Regions from separate parts of the Homo sapiens genome. Here regions 1, 2 and 3 are each linked to region 4. Evidence: promoter capture Hi-C in human tissues and cell types (Jung and others, 2019). All regions are on one chromosome and are shown on one strand. The core of a region is centred on a gene start or on the middle of the fragment in contact, and the rest is flanking DNA. Distances in the headings are between cores, read along the strand shown. Region 1 overlaps SPRY4-AS1 (SPRY4 antisense RNA 1). Region 2 overlaps SPRY4-AS1 (SPRY4 antisense RNA 1). Region 3 has its middle 98 kb from the start of SPRY4-IT1. Region 4 holds the start of SPRY4 (sprouty RTK signaling antagonist 4).

What was found. The method cuts DNA at HindIII sites, captures the fragments that hold promoters and counts their contacts. A contact is called where the count stands out against the background at its distance.
Region 1: a contact is called between a fragment that was not itself captured here and the fragment with the promoter of SPRY4 in region 4, in 3 of the 25 tissues and cell types used here (bladder, heart right ventricle and stomach).
Region 2: a fragment that was not itself captured here is called in contact with the fragment with the promoter of SPRY4 in region 4 in 2 of the 25 tissues and cell types used here (IMR-90 fibroblasts and heart right ventricle).
Region 3: a contact is called between a fragment that was not itself captured here and the fragment with the promoter of SPRY4 in region 4, in 5 of the 25 tissues and cell types used here (IMR-90 fibroblasts, adrenal gland, aorta and 2 more).

Annotation. Positions count from the first base shown.
Region 1 is chr5:142,411,957-142,415,615 of GRCh38, reverse strand. The region is part of intron 3 of SPRY4-AS1 (SPRY4 antisense RNA 1); the gene reads right to left. Among named protein-coding and RNA genes, the nearest start is that of SPRY4-AS1, 88 kb to the right of the region's middle. The HindIII fragment of the contact is 6,109 bases long and covers 1-3,659 here.
Region 2 is chr5:142,395,817-142,399,567 of GRCh38, reverse strand. All of the region lies in intron 3 of SPRY4-AS1 (SPRY4 antisense RNA 1), which reads right to left. Among named protein-coding and RNA genes, the nearest start is that of SPRY4-AS1, 72 kb to the right of the region's middle. RefSeq lists a silencer at 2,030-2,324. The HindIII fragment of the contact is 4,654 bases long and covers 1-3,751 here.
Region 3 is chr5:142,219,055-142,222,524 of GRCh38, reverse strand. No RefSeq gene overlaps it. Among named protein-coding and RNA genes, the nearest start is that of SPRY4-IT1, 98 kb to the left of the region's middle. The HindIII fragment of the contact is 6,422 bases long and covers 1-3,470 here.
Region 4 is chr5:142,323,128-142,326,741 of GRCh38, reverse strand. SPRY4 (sprouty RTK signaling antagonist 4) reads left to right here and starts at 1,721. Exons shown (of 2, transcript NM_001127496.3): 1 at 1,721-1,898. It overlaps SPRY4-AS1 (SPRY4 antisense RNA 1), which reads right to left and starts at 1,449. Exons shown (of 4, transcript NR_120664.1): 1 at 1,372-1,449. RefSeq lists enhancers at 2,255-2,314, 1,796-2,758, 2,759-3,614. The HindIII fragment of the contact is 10,639 bases long and covers 1-3,614 here.

The sequences.
Region 1 (3,659 bases), core at 454-2,953, 89 kb before region 4:
TATAAAGAAGTGAAAGGAAATGAGTTTATAATAAAATATCTAATTCAATATGTAAATTCACAGGCACAAATATACTAAAAGACATAATGAAATAGGAGCTTTTAAGGAAAAACTTTGGATTTAAGAGAAGAAAGGAAAGACTCTATTAATATTGTCAAAATCTTCCTTAAAATTTTTGGTATTTTGAAATGAAAGCTAAATAGATATCTATATAATTATAAACATTTTGCCTATATAAATGTTTGGTAGGACATTTGATGGTCATATGAGTCATGAGGCTTTTTGTTATGGTGGGTGTATTTCTTGTACATCTAGCATTCCTGCCAATCCATTGCTGGTTAAACCCCTCCCCTGTCACTTTGACAAACAACAATGCCCTCATCAGTGTCCAAAATGCCTCCTGGAGATGGATCATAGACCCAAATATAAAACTTAAGATTATCACACTTTTAGAAAAAAAACATAGGAGAAAAACCTTTGTGAGCTTGGCTTAGGTAAGTGCAGGCAACTGTAAATTTGCTAAAGAGTAATGGACACACACACACACACACACACGCAGAGAGAGAGAAATAGAGACAGATGAGAGAGAGAGAAAGCACTTGCCTATATATAGGAATAAGGCAAAAATGTCCACTCTCACCACTTCTATTCAACATTGTACTAGATTCCAGGCCAGGGAAATAAAACCACAGAAGGAAATAAAAATCATAAAAATTAGAAGAAAAGTCAAACTCCTCATTTGGAGACTACATTATTGTATATGTAGAAAATCCTATGGAATCTACCAAAAAATTACCAGAACTAATAAGTAAATTTAGCAAAGTTGCAGAATACAAAGTCAAAATAATATGCAACAGTAAACTGCATTTCTACAGATCAGCAATAAACAACTGGAATGTGAAATTTAAAATACCATTTGTGATAGCATTTTTAAAAACTTAAAATACTTATCTATAAGTTTAACAGAAATATGCATAGCTTGTACACTGAAAACTACAAACTATGGCTAAAAGATTAATAAAGATCTAGCCAAGTGTAGAGGTTTACCATGTTCATGGATTTGAAGGTTCATTATTTCTAAATTGAATCTTAAATGATTCACCAATATGGACTTATTTATTATTCATTTGAAAATATGTCTTAGCCTCTCCTATGCACAGGGTACTGTCCTAAATGCCAGGGATACAGCGGTAAAGAAGATAAACAAATATCCCTGCCTCCATGGAGCTTACATTTTAAACAGAAACCACAACATAAAAAAGCAAAATACTAGTAAGTCAGATGGCAACAAGAGGTCGGGAGGAAAGCAATGAAGGGGAGCGGGATAAGGAATGTAGTGAAAGGAATGAAAATTTAGATGGAGTGGAGACACTTTAACAAAGACCTAATATAGAGGTAAAAGTAAGGCTTGTAGGTAGCAGGGGAGAAAGTATTCTAGGCAAAGGGAACAACAAATAAATTATTCTAGGTAACAAGTCTAGAATGTTGTAGCAACAACAAGGAGGGCAGTACAACTGAAATAGAATGAGCAAAGGGCAGGTGACAGGACGTGAGGTCAAAGCAGCAACAGGCCAGTTTAGGCCGAGCTTCATAAGGCCGTTTTAAAGACTCTGGCTTTTATTCTGAGTGGCATGTGCAGCCATTGAAGGATTTTGAGCAGAGTGACGGGACCTACTGATCCTTTTTTTTTTTTTTTTTTTTTTTGAGACAGGTTCTCACTCTGTCACCCAAGCTGGAGTTCAGTGGTGCAATCATGGCTCACTGCAACCTCAACCTCCCCGGCTCAAGCCTCCCACCTCAGCCTCCCAAGTAGCTACGACTACAGGCATGTGCCACCACACCTAGATTATTTTTTTAAAGTTTTTTTACAGACAGGGTCTCGCTATGTTGTTCGGGCTGGTCTTAAATTTTTGTGTTCAAGCTATTTTCCCACCTTGGCCTTCCAACAGTGCTGAGATTAGAGGCATGAGCTACAGTGCCTGGCTTGATAATACTTTAGAAGGATCATTCTGACTGCCATGTTGAGAATGGCAGGTCAGCAGTAGAAGCAGTTAGGAACTGACCGCAATAATCTAGGCAAAAGATAATGGTGGCTTGGGCCAAGGTAGTGGTAACAGAAGTGGTGACAAATGCAAAGAGTCCAGATATACTCACAAGGTAGATAGGATTTCCCTTACTTAGCTGTCCTTTGGAAAGCCCCTCTCTGGCAGGCACCTGACTGTCACCTGTAGTCCTGGAATGTTCTCTCTATAACCCACCACATGTTTAGGGAGGGTAGCTGTTCACCCCTGCACACCAGAGATCTCAACAGCAGACCAAGCTTTGAGGAGCTAAGGAAGTTCAGGTCCAAGGGGGAAAGCAAGTTACTCCTCTCTCTTTCCCCTTCTCTCAGCCTGACGGGCTTCCTGTTAGGAAATGTAGCCCTACTACCTGCTTCAGAGGATGGCAAGGGCAGGAGCCAGCGTGCCATGAGGTTAGGGGTGGCGATGCTGCTTAGCAACCCCTGCTTAGCTCACAGACCAGCGCTCCCAGACCTTCCAGGCAGCACTCCTGCAAACTCATCAATCTCCCACCCTGGTCTCTACCAGGTGCAGCTCCTGGCCCTGGGGTCACTTTTCTACCAAAAGCAGCCACAGGGCTCAGCAAGCGAGTGCTTAGTTCTATGTTCAGGAGGCCCACACAGGCCACTAGGTACGCACATACGCTGTCAGTTGCTCTCATACACATGCACACACGTGCAAACAACTGTCAGGTCAACCTAGAGTGGCAGGCACATCTGGTTTTTCTGAAGTGGGTGGTAGGGATCTAGAACAACACTGCTCTGCACTCTGACAATTCCAAGCGCAGACTCCTGTAAAAGCTTGGACAGAGCTACTTAAATCCCACATGCCAGCCCTGCTTAGGTTGGCAGATCATGAGACCATGACTGTGTCTGGGAAGGCAAGGGCAGAGGCCTTTGTCTGCTTTTTGGGTTACAAAAGTGGATTGGGCTGGCACCTACAGCTATGAATAAAAGGGGAAGAGAAGGCAACAAAAGAGAGGGAGTGACTGGGGTGGAGGTAAAAATATCTTTTCCTCTAGAGGGGACTTTAGAGAAATTTCTTCTCCTAGGTCTTTCCTATACATGTGGCTTTTTCTCCTTTTCTCGTGTCTCAGTCACTGGCCATGGGGCACAGAGGCTGGAGGATAACAGAAGCAATGCGAGAGTGAAGTCCAGGCATCTCAGGCTAAACCCACTGCCACCCAAGCATGGAACTGACAGCATGCAGAGCCAGGTGGCTGGAAGTTGGGCAAAAGGGGCAACTGGAGGAGAGTTGGGGAGAGGCAACCATGAGAATAAGGCAGAGGATTTACAGGAGAATATGGCCCAGAGCCCTTGGGGATAGGCCACACAGGACACAGCAGATGGTCCCCAAGCTGGCCTGATCCTCCCATCCCGTTTAATAAGGAGTCAGGATTATGTGCTCAATACCTGAGGTCCTCTTCAGTTCAGCATTCTCCAGTCTGGGAGAAGGGACTCTAGAGAGCAGGGGAAATGTCTGTGTATATGTACATGCATGCACAGACACTTATTAACACACATCTACTTATATTCGGGGCCTCAGCCTGAGTAGCAAAGAACAGCAAAAAACTAGAAGAGATGCTGGAGAGTATGAGGT
Region 2 (3,751 bases), core at 719-3,218, 73 kb before region 4:
TGTTGTTGTTTTTTGTTTTTTTTTTAATTTTCTAAGAGGCAGAGTCTCAGTCTGTCACCCAGGCTGGAGTGCAGTGGCACAATCGTAGCTCACTGCAGCCTCCAACTCCTGGGCTCCAGCAATCCTCCCGAGTAGCTGGTTCTACAGGCACACATCACCATGCCCAACTAATTTTTTTTTTTGAGACGGTGTCTCGCTCTGTTGCCCAGGCTGGAGTCCAGTGGCGTGATCTCAGCTCACTGCAACCTCCGTCTCCTGGGTTCAAGCAATTCTCTGCTTTAGCCTCCCAAGTATCTGGGATTACAGGCACCCACCACCACCCCTGGCTAATTTTTGTATTTTTAGTAGAGATGGGGTTTCACCATGTTGCCCAGGCTGGTCTTGAACTCCTGACCTCAGGTGATCCACCTAACTCGGCCTCCCAAAGTGGTGGTTATAGGTGTGAGCCACTTTGCCTGGCCCATGTATCATTATTTTACATATCAGTTCAACAACAGTGAGCAAGACCAACCTCTCATTCTCACAGTACTTTCATTTTAATGGAAAGAGACAGAAAATACACATATATAATATGTCAGGAGGTGGGAAGTGACATAAAGAAAGATGGAGCAGGAAGTAATAAAGTAATCAGGGAAGGCCTCTCAGGTTCCCAGGGGGAACAAGGGGCATGAGCCTTGGGGATACTACAGGAAGAACATTCCAGGCAGAGAGAACCGCCAGAGCAGAGGCCCTGAGACTAAGGGAGCAAAGGGTGTTTGCAGAAGAGCCAGCAGAGCAGCGGGCTGCTATATGCAAGGGTGAGAGGGACGGCAGGGCCTCACCAACCAAGGTAAGGGCTTTCGGTCTCACCCAAGTGAGATATCTGGAGACAACCCAGATATTCTAAGCCACCTGCCTTTCCTGCACTGTCTAGACATTCAGGTGGCTGGCCCTGCTGGAGACCATTCCACAGCCCCACAACTTAGAGCCACAAGTCCAATCTCTACACCCATCACTTCCCCACTCTCAGATACTTCACAGAGGAAACCTCCCCAGGGCCTGTGACACCACTTTGCAATTCTCCTGTCTTCCCAGCAGCACCAGCTACATAATTTGTAGCGCCCAGTTAGGGTTGCCAGATAAAATACAGGATACCGAATTGGAATTCCAGATAAAGAGTAATTGGTTTGTTTGTTTGAAACTGAGTTTTGCTCTTGTTGCCCAGGCTGAAGTGCAATGGCACGATTTCAGCTCACTGCAGCCTCTGTGTCCTGGGTTCAAGCGATTCTCCTGCCTCAGCCTCCTGAGTAGCTGGGATTACAGGCGCCCGCCACCACGCCCAGCTATTTTTTTGTATTTTTAGTAGAGATGGGGTTTCGCTATGTTGGCCAGGCTGGTCTCAAACTCCTGACCTCAGGGGATCCACCCACCTTGGCCTCCCAAAGTGCTGGGATTACGGGCGTGAGCTACCGTGCCCAGCTGTGAGTAACTGTTAATCTCAGTATGTCCCAGATATTGCATGGGACACACTTACACTCAAAACAAATATGAAAATGAAGCGGCCTGTGTTCAAAAATCATTAACAATTTCAAGACAGTGATGCCAGAGCATTATACAAAGCAAGAAGCCCTTTTAAGTGTAGGGACCCGTGCGACTGCTCAAGCTGCCCACTCATGAAGCCAGCCCTGCTCCCCACTCAGCTCTCCTGTCCTTACAGGAGACAATTGCAATTCAACTTCCCTAAACATCTGACCCACCACTCCCTCTCTTGCAGCTACTTTATATAGGAAACAAACCATCTTAAAGGAAGTTCCTCAATGTCCCAGTCCCACCCATTCTCCTGGTCTCTACTCTACCTGTTCCAATGGGAGTCCTCTTTCTATCTGAGTCAGGATCCCATACTCTTCCCCACCTTCTCAGGTCCTCACACTTTCCACTACCCACCTCGTCTCTATCTTCAACTTCTGTTCTACCAGAAGTCTACCTCTCAGAAGCAATTTAACATGCTCCAATCTTCCTGCATGGTTTTTGTTTTGTTTTGTTTTGTTTTTTTTAAAAAAAAAGCTTTCCTGGATCCTCACATACCCTTCCCTTCATATTTAATATCTTGAATGAAGGAGCTACATTCCCATCAACCTTCTGTTATCTGGCTGTCACACTCTTGCTGTCATCATCAATGACCTTTGTGGTACTTCTCAGGCCTTATCTTTCTTTCCTGCTTAAAACTCCCTTTCCTCAGTGTTAGTGTCACCAAATTCTCCTGGCTTCTTCTATGTGAGGCATGTCTTCTCGGTTTCCTCTGTGGGCCTCCTTTCCTTAAACACGGCTCTGTCCTAGACTCTCTTTTCATGTGTTACACACTCTCACCCACCATGGAACCCAGGGGTTCTACGTGTTGAAGCAGCCCACATTTCTCTCTAGTCCAGATGTCTCTCCTGAGTTTCAGACTCTAATGTTTACAGGACAGCTCCACTCTATGTCCTTGAACTCAACATGTCCAAAATGAGACTCAAAAAATAAAAAGTGGACTCCTTCTCCCCTATGCCCTCACCTGGTACTGTTAAGGCAGGAGAATAGGGTCTGAAGGTAGGGAACCTAAGGCTGATTTGTGCTGACTTCCTAGAACTGAATCAAAAGGAAAATCTTACCTCTCTACGCCCAAGTAACAAAAGGATCAGAGGCTACTCCTTTTGCAACCCCACCCCCTTTCTGCATTGCAAATGAAAAATGGAAAGCACCTCTGATTGGTCCCCTCCCACAACCAATCAGACTGGTCCCTGGCCAAGTCTTCATTTGCATAGGTTGTAACTCTGTAACTTCACTTCAGCCTCTAATTGGTCACCTCCCACAACCAAACAGACTGGTCATGGACCAAGTCTTCATTGACATAGGTTGTAGCCAAGTAACCGATGGGAAACCTCTAGAGAGTATTTAAACCCCAGAAAATTCTGTAACCAGGGCTTGCTCCAGCCCACTCCCACTCTGTGGAGTGTACTTGCATTTCAATAAATCTGTGCTTTCATTGCTTCATTCTTTCATTGCTTTGTGTGTGTTGTCCAATTCTTTGTTCAAAATGCCAAGAACCTGGACAACTCATGGTCAAGACCTTCCACTGGTAACACTGCCTTCTGTTTCTGAATGGTAACCCATTTCCAAGCCATAAACTCAGGTGATTCTCCTCCACCTTCATATCATCAAATCCCAATTCTGCTTTCTAAATCTCTCTTGATTGCATGCCTTCCCTTCTGCCTCTCCTATTTCAGGTTACCTGGATCTCTTCCCTAGTAAAATCTTTCAACAGTCTTCCAGCCCATGCCATTCCCAATCTTGTCCCCTCCCATCTCCACTCAGCAGCCCCAGATGCACACCCTCTCCAGCCTCATCTCCCAGCACTCCCCTCACACAACAGACTTGAGTCACTCGGCATCTCTCAATCTGCAGTGAGACCATGCCACCCCTTGCTTCTCTGGGCTGCAGCACATGCTATTTCCTCTGCCTGGGATTTTCTCAAACTCCAGTACAGCTAACTCCTGCTCCTCAGCCATGGGAAACAGCAAGTAGAGTGGTTAAGTTAGATTCCTTAGCCAACCTTCCTTGGTTCAAACCACAGTTCCACCACTTCCAGGTATACAACCTTAACCATTCTAAGCTTCAATTTCCCCTTCAAAAAAATGGGAATAATAATTGTGGAGATATCACTGGTTGACTGTCCAGCCATTTCTTCTTCCTCACTAACAGAACCCCAATTTTGTCCAGAGACCATGTGCTCATC
Region 3 (3,470 bases), core at 302-2,801, 100 kb after region 4:
GGAACACTTCCTATCCCAGGGGCAATTTCAAAATCAACGCATCCCTTGCCGACCCAACGGCAAACCAACTGCTTGTTTAAGGAAATCAGTGGAATGTATGCAATTAATTACAGGGCAAATCTCAAGTCAGACTAAATACTGGAAATCAGGAACCAGAGTCCAAGTCCCTTTCGTGATCGGAAGGGGGAACTTCCCGATTTGATTGCAGAAAGCAATTTACTTCAATTAGCAGTGACATAAACAGAGTGATTGCTTAATAGGAGCACTGAATCTCTAAAAAATAAACAGCCTGAATTGCATCCTTTACCATTATATTAGCAGCATGGGATTGCTTTTCCCAAGACAGGTTTGATTAACTCTTTAGGAACCATCCTCACTCCTAAGCAGATCTCTTCAGAGCTCCTAAAAAGTCTTCACATCATGGTCCTGGCATTTGTTGTGCACCTCGGGCATATATGTTCATCAATTTGCTTGTTGCTTTAACTTTCAAGTCTTTTAATCCTCTATAATCCTGTGAGATATGTATTATTATGCTCATTTTTAACAGAGGGGGAAAATGAGGCTCAGAAAATTCATGGTGGTGATCTTTTCAAATACATACCTAATCATGTCATTCTCCTGCTTAACTTACCCTCGAAAGCCTTCCAAACCCCTCAGCATAGCCTCCAAAGCCCTGTGTGATCTGTTTCTGGCCTACTTCTCCCACCTCTGCTCAAACCACTTCTCCGCTTGCTCACCACATTTTATATTTTCAGGCCACTGCCTGTTTTGCAAGCGCGTCAAGCCCATTCCCATCTCAAGGCCTTTGCACTTGCTGTTCCCTGCGCCTGGAGCACTCTTCCTCCATTTCCAGAACTGACTTCTCAGCTTCCAGGACTCTGTTCAGAGGCTACGTCCTCAGAGAGGAGTTCCCTGTCCGTCCCATGTTCCCCACTCCCTTTCGGCTTTTGACTAACACTTAGCATGATCCAAAATTATCTTGTTTGTTTATAGTTGATGTATTTCTTGTTTGTCTCCCTCCTGGAATATAAGCTCCAGGGCGGCAGAGATCCTGTCTCCTGTTTGTCTTGTTCATTTGCACAGGGTCAAGCATACGGTAGGCAGACAGAAGATATTTGCTTAATAAAGGAAGTATTGTCCCTGCTTTTATACAGATGAGGAAATGGAAGTTGGGAGAAGTTAGGCCATTTCACAAGGTCAAACAGCTGGGAAGCAGCTCCAGGGGATTCACAGGATTCAGACATCGCTTTCTCCCATGCAGCTACACTACTTTTTTGAGGACTCTCCTTTCCTCCCTATTCTCTTCCCCCACCACCTTCTCACCTCCACCCTACCACCCCAGCCCCAGAAAGTAGGCACTCATCCAACCAGCCGGGAGAGCATTAAAATCACAACCACAAAGCAAAATCTCCTCTTCCTGTTTAAACTCCCTCCTGTGGTACTGATGCTTCTTAGCCGGACAGGGTCCCGCTCATTGCAAGAATGTGAATTCTGGAAGTTAAAGATCTTAACACCCCTCTCCCTCTGGCTCCCCACCTTGAAGGATTTAGATACCGAACTGGGCTCCCCTTAGGAAATGCATCCCCGGACTTGGACTGTGGAGGTAGTGGGCAAGATGTTTGGTGAAGCTTTCGCTGCCCTGTGACCCCACCCACCCCACAGCCAAATCCTACCCTTGGCCCAAGCTCCCCACACTGCCCAGTGAATTGGGGCTGTAAACTGGAGGAGGGAAGGCTGGAGAAGCCAAGGTCAGTGGCGGGAGAAGTGCAATGGGAGAAGACCAGGGAGAGGGTGAACACTGAAGAATTTGAGAGATGTGTGAGTGCCCCAGAATTGGGCTGTAGGGAAGTCGGCCTCCCTGAGCAGGCAGCCGTGTCGGGGCTGACCTGAAAGCAGAGGTCTGTCCCTTAGATGCTGGCTGGCTTTGGGGCTCAGAGTCTTCATCTGGTCCCTCCGCAGCATCACCTTCAGGAGAAGTTCAAGTGCAGCTGTCATTGCAGTCCCAGTTTCACTATCCATTCCCTGTGTCTCCTTGAACAGGGCTTTAACCTCTCTGAGGCCACTTCCTGCTTGATAAGGAGACCACATCGCCCACCCTGCTTCATATGCAGATTTCTTTTTTTTTTTTTTTTGAGACGGAGTCTCGCTCTGTTGCCCAGGCTGCAGTGCAATGGCGTGATCTCAGCTCAGTGCAACCTCCACCTCCTGGGTTCAAGTGATTCTCCTGCCTCAGCCTCCTGAGTAGCTGGGATTACAGGTGTGCACCACCACGCCCAGCTAATTTTTGTATTTTTAGTAGAAACGGGGTTTCACCATGTTGGTCAGGCTGGTTTTGAACTCCTGGCCTTGTGATCCACCAGCCTCAGCCTCCCAAAGTGCTGGGATTACAGGCGTGAGCCACCACACCCAACCATATGCAGATTTCAATAGTTTTTTTTTTTTTTTTTTTTTGAGATGGAGTTTCGCTCTTGTTGCCCAGGCTGGAGTGCAATGGCACGATCTTGGCTCACCACAACCTCTGCCTCCCAGGTTCAAGCGATTCCCCTGCCTCAGCTTCCCGAGTAGCTAGGATTACAGGCATGTACCACCATGCCCAGCTAATTTTGTATTTTTAGTAGAGACGGGGGTTTCTCCATGTTTGTCAGGCTGGTCTCGAACTCCCGACCTCAGGTGATCCGCCTGCCTCAGCCTCCCAAAATGCTGGGATTACAGGCATGAGCCACCACGCCCGACCAATAGTTTTATTTATTTATTTTGAGATGGAGTCTCGCTCTGTCACTGAGGCTGGAGTGCAGGGTGCGATCTTGGCTCACTGCAGCCTCTGCCTCCCAGGTTTAAGTAATTCTCCTGCCTCAGCCTCCCAAGTAGCTGGGATTACAGGCATGAGCCACCAAGCCTGGCTAATTTTTGTGTTTTTAGTAGAGATGGGGCTTCGCCATGTTGCCCAGGCGGGTCTTGAACTCCTGGGCTCAAGTGATCCACCACACCCAGCCCAGATTTCAGTAGCTTTAAATAAGAGAACGAATGGGAAAGTGCCCTGGAAGGTTTAAAGTATAAAGTATACTAAGGAGGTACTTTTGTTTTAGCCTAAATGGGAAAGAGACTTTCCCATTAACATTCTTTAAACATCTGTCAGAGGTGGCGTTTCCTATGCTCATTGAACAGGTATGGAAACAGGCTCACAGAGCAACTTGCCTCCAGCTACAGACCCCTGAAGTCTAGGTTTTAATCATTGTCTATGCTGAACGTATGCAGCTGGGACTAGATCCATTCAGACAAAATCCTGGCGAAAGGTGAAGGGCGGTGGGTGAGGGGTGTGGAGTACAAGACGCAGATGGGAAAGGGCATGGGCCACTACGGCCATGGAAAGGGCTTTTTAGTTCCAAGTTACAATAAGCATACACTAAGACAGAGTCTTGCTCTGTAGCCCAGACTGGAGTGCAGTGGCACCATCTCAGGTCACTACAACC
Region 4 (3,614 bases), core at 472-2,971:
GAAAGGTCTCGCCCCTGAAAGGAAGGCTGAGGTTCCCTAGGGGAGAGTCTGCTCTGCCCTCAGGAGCTGGGTAAGTACACGGAGGGGTGAGCCGAATGGTGAGAAGGCATTTTAGGCTAGGACTCGGTGACCTTGGGCTGCCTGCCTCTAGAGTCCCAGCCCCAGCCCTAGGCCAGACCTCAGCCCTGGGCTGGGAGCCTTTCATTGGTTCCTCTGACAACAGCCAAGCACAATCCTATAGTGGCGTAGGAAGAAAAAGACTGCCACACAATCTCCCCGTGCGGCCAGAACAGCGGCAAGACAGACCTTACAAGGGACTCAGGGCCAAGCCCTGGCCCAGACTCTGCTCTTATCCACGCATCAAAGCCACCCCCCGCCCCGGACTTCCCGGAGGCTACAGGCTCCTCCGTTCCAGGGAGGAGCAGGGCCTGCTGCGAGGGCTCCCCGCCTTCCTGGAGTCAGGCCTAATGGCGGGGGCTTTTCTTTTCACCGGCTTGAGCTGATCCTCACCCCCGCCCCCCAACGCCACCATCATTAACAGCGAAGAAAGGATCCCCAGCCATTTCCATTTCCTCTGCGGCTCAAGAGCCCCGTTGTTATTTAATCCTGAGGCCACCCCGGCAGCATCCTCGGCGCAGCCGGCTCCACCCATCCACCTGGCCAGTTCTCGGCCGCTCCCACTTCCCCGGAGGGGAGGCCGGTGAGAGGTGGGGGATATTGGGGAAAGGCGCCTACAACAGCGAAGGGCCGTGGGCCTTCGGTGGACCGAGGCTCCTCAGGCCAGCGTCCTGTGAGGGCTGGGAAACCGACTGGGACAGAGAAAGGACACCTAGCTAGGGCGACAGAGAGCGGGCAGACGCCCGGGCACTGCGGACATTGCACTGGGGCGGGGGGCGGGGGGAACGCTGGGAGGCGAGGGCCAGGCTTCCTCTGGCTGAGTTGCCAGAATCGCCCCGGGGGGTACTGGAGCCGGAAGAGGCCTGGGCCCAGTCACTGTCTACACCCAAGAAATGGGGGGAGGGGCGGCCAGCACTCACGAGAGATTCAGCCTCAGGAAAAAGAACCAGATTCACTCACCAATCCTCACCCCACCCTTTGATATGAATGATGGACATTTTCCTAATTTTTGGTAAACGCAGCTTCAAGACCCCTCCCGCCTGGCGTCTCTGGTCTAGAGCAAGAGAAGGCCCCCAGTAGGGGTCCTCCCGCCCCCCCTTTTGACTGCCTGCGGGGGGCAGAGATCCCCAGATCTAGGTGTGCCCTCCACCACCCTGCTCTCAACCCGGGATCCGGAGGCCGCAGCGTCCCCCACCCCCCAGCGACACTGACGGTTCCTGCCCAGGCCCGCAGTGGCGTGAAGGTGGCCTTTACCTCCTCTCGCAGGCTGGGAGGGGGTGCAGCCCGCGCAGCTGGCCCAGCTGCAGCAGTCGCCGCCGCCCTCCATTCATTAAAAAAAAAAAAAAAAAGGCAACAACAGCCTCCACTGGAACCTCCACCCCTCTTTGTAAAAGAACGACGGCTCCTGGTGGAGCTTGAGCCAGTCCCAGCAATCACGGGTTAAGATCTTTTCCCGCCCCCCATTCATAAAAAAAGGAGCGGAGCGCATGCGCGCTCAGGGTCTGTTGTGCCCACCCATTCATAGAATCGCGAACGGCACGCGTGCGCACTGGCGCTCCCTTCCCTCCCATTCATAAAAAAGCCATTTTCCCAGGCAGTGGTTGCAACATCGCCGCGGAGGTAGCGAGCTGAGCTGACAGCGCGGAGCTGGCGCTGTGGAGCGCAGGGAGCCTTGCCGGTTCCTCCGACCGGCGTCTGCGAGTACAGCGGCGGCTAACCTGCCCCGGCTTCAGGATTTACACAGACGTGGGGCGATGCTTGTGACCCTGCAGCTCCTCAAAGTAAGTCCATGGCTGGTTTGGAGATCTGAAACTGCCCCTCTCTGAGCCGCGACGCGACTCCCCCCTTGGGCTGGGGCAAATGGTGCGCTATTTCTAGGCGCGCCTCAGTGTTCCTTCCCTCAGCCTGCGCCTCCTTGAGTCGCTGCGGTGCGCCGCAGCTCCCTGACGCCCTCGGCCCGGCCGGCACGGCGCCGGGGGTGTTCACAGCCTGGCACCGCCGTTTCCGACCCCTGGGCATTGCCAAGCCCGGCTTCCCCGCCCTCTGAGACTCGGGAAGCCCCGTGCGTGTCCCGGGAGTTTGCCTCTGGCCTGGCCTCTTTCCTTCTCCTGCCACCATCCGCCTCGAACGCTGGAACGGGCGTCTCTGGGCTTGGTCAGGAGCCACCGTTTGGGTCGGGGGGCGCCCTCGCTCTGGGCGGCTCGCCCACCTCCCAGCTCGGTGCCCACGGTGCCAGCTTTGCCGTGTATCTCCCAGCCCGCCGTAGCGGCCTATGCTCGACGTAGATTTTTTCTTTCTCTTCGGAGCCGTGACGGACTGAATTCCCTCCCCTTCTGCCTCTCCCTCGATGGTCAGCGAGGGGCTGGCTCAGGACTGGGCATTCCTACTCCCTCTCCTTGGCGAGGCGGTTCCTCGCCGTCTGACCTTTGCTCCGCTGCCGCATTTTATGCTATGCAACTGCCTTGCAGTTGACTTTTTCTTGCCTGGCCTCTGTAAGGCCTGAGGCTCCTCGGCCACCCTGTACCTCCCTATCCTCGGGCACCGAGCTGTGCCAGGCCCCGGAGCCCCCAGGCCGCGCTAGGGCTGCGGTGGGGGTTGAAGGTGCGTTTACATAACACCAGGCGTGTGGGAGCTGGAGGAAGAGGTTGCGAATGTAGGAGAGATAAGGCTCCTGCTTTCCCTCCTTCCTTCTTGGTGGTACCAGGCTTGACATCACAGAGAAGAGGATAGAGACGGTATGTTCTGACAAATTCTGAATCGCCAAGACCCCGGGGACAGTGAGCTGGGTGAGGGCGGGTTTGGCTAGCCAGGGCAGCTAGAGCTTGGCTCCATCACTGGGTCCAGGGCTGTGCCCAGTTCCCCCTCCATGCAGACGATCAAAAAGCATTTAGACAGTAGCTGCTCTTGTGCAAGAAGACGGTTTCTCAATTCTCCTTGATTGGGGGCAGGGGGTTGTGGGCAGGAGAGGCAGGGGAGACAGAAAATGGTTGCGTGGCTTATAGGGCTGAAGGATGGGCAAGAGAGGCGAAATGGGCTGGAGGGGCTAGATGGTAGGCAGAGTAGGGAGCTGCTGGCTGCCTCTTTCACCAGCTGCTGGAGGGGCATCCATATTGCCAAGGCCTCTGTGAGGGCAGGAGGCCGCCTTCTGGCGCAGCAAGGCTTCCGTACCCCCCAGCGCGGTTAGTGCTGGAAAGAAGAGTGTACAGTGGGGTGCCCAAACCTAGTGGCATCCCCTTCTTTCCTGCCTCCAAATCAGTGGCGTGATTCTCTCCAGTTTTGGGAGAGGCCAGACACACTGGAGGCCAAAGAACTTGCAGAGGGGCGGGAGCAAGCACTCGTCTGTGTCTGTAGCTGACCGAGGCACTAACCTCCCTGACAAGTCTCTCGGGATTCAAAGCTGGAAGGTATAAGGCTCAGAGAAGTTGGGAACTGCGGGTTTATCAATCTCTTAATGAGCTCAGTCTGGCCTGAGGCCCTACCCAATATTGCACTGGTGG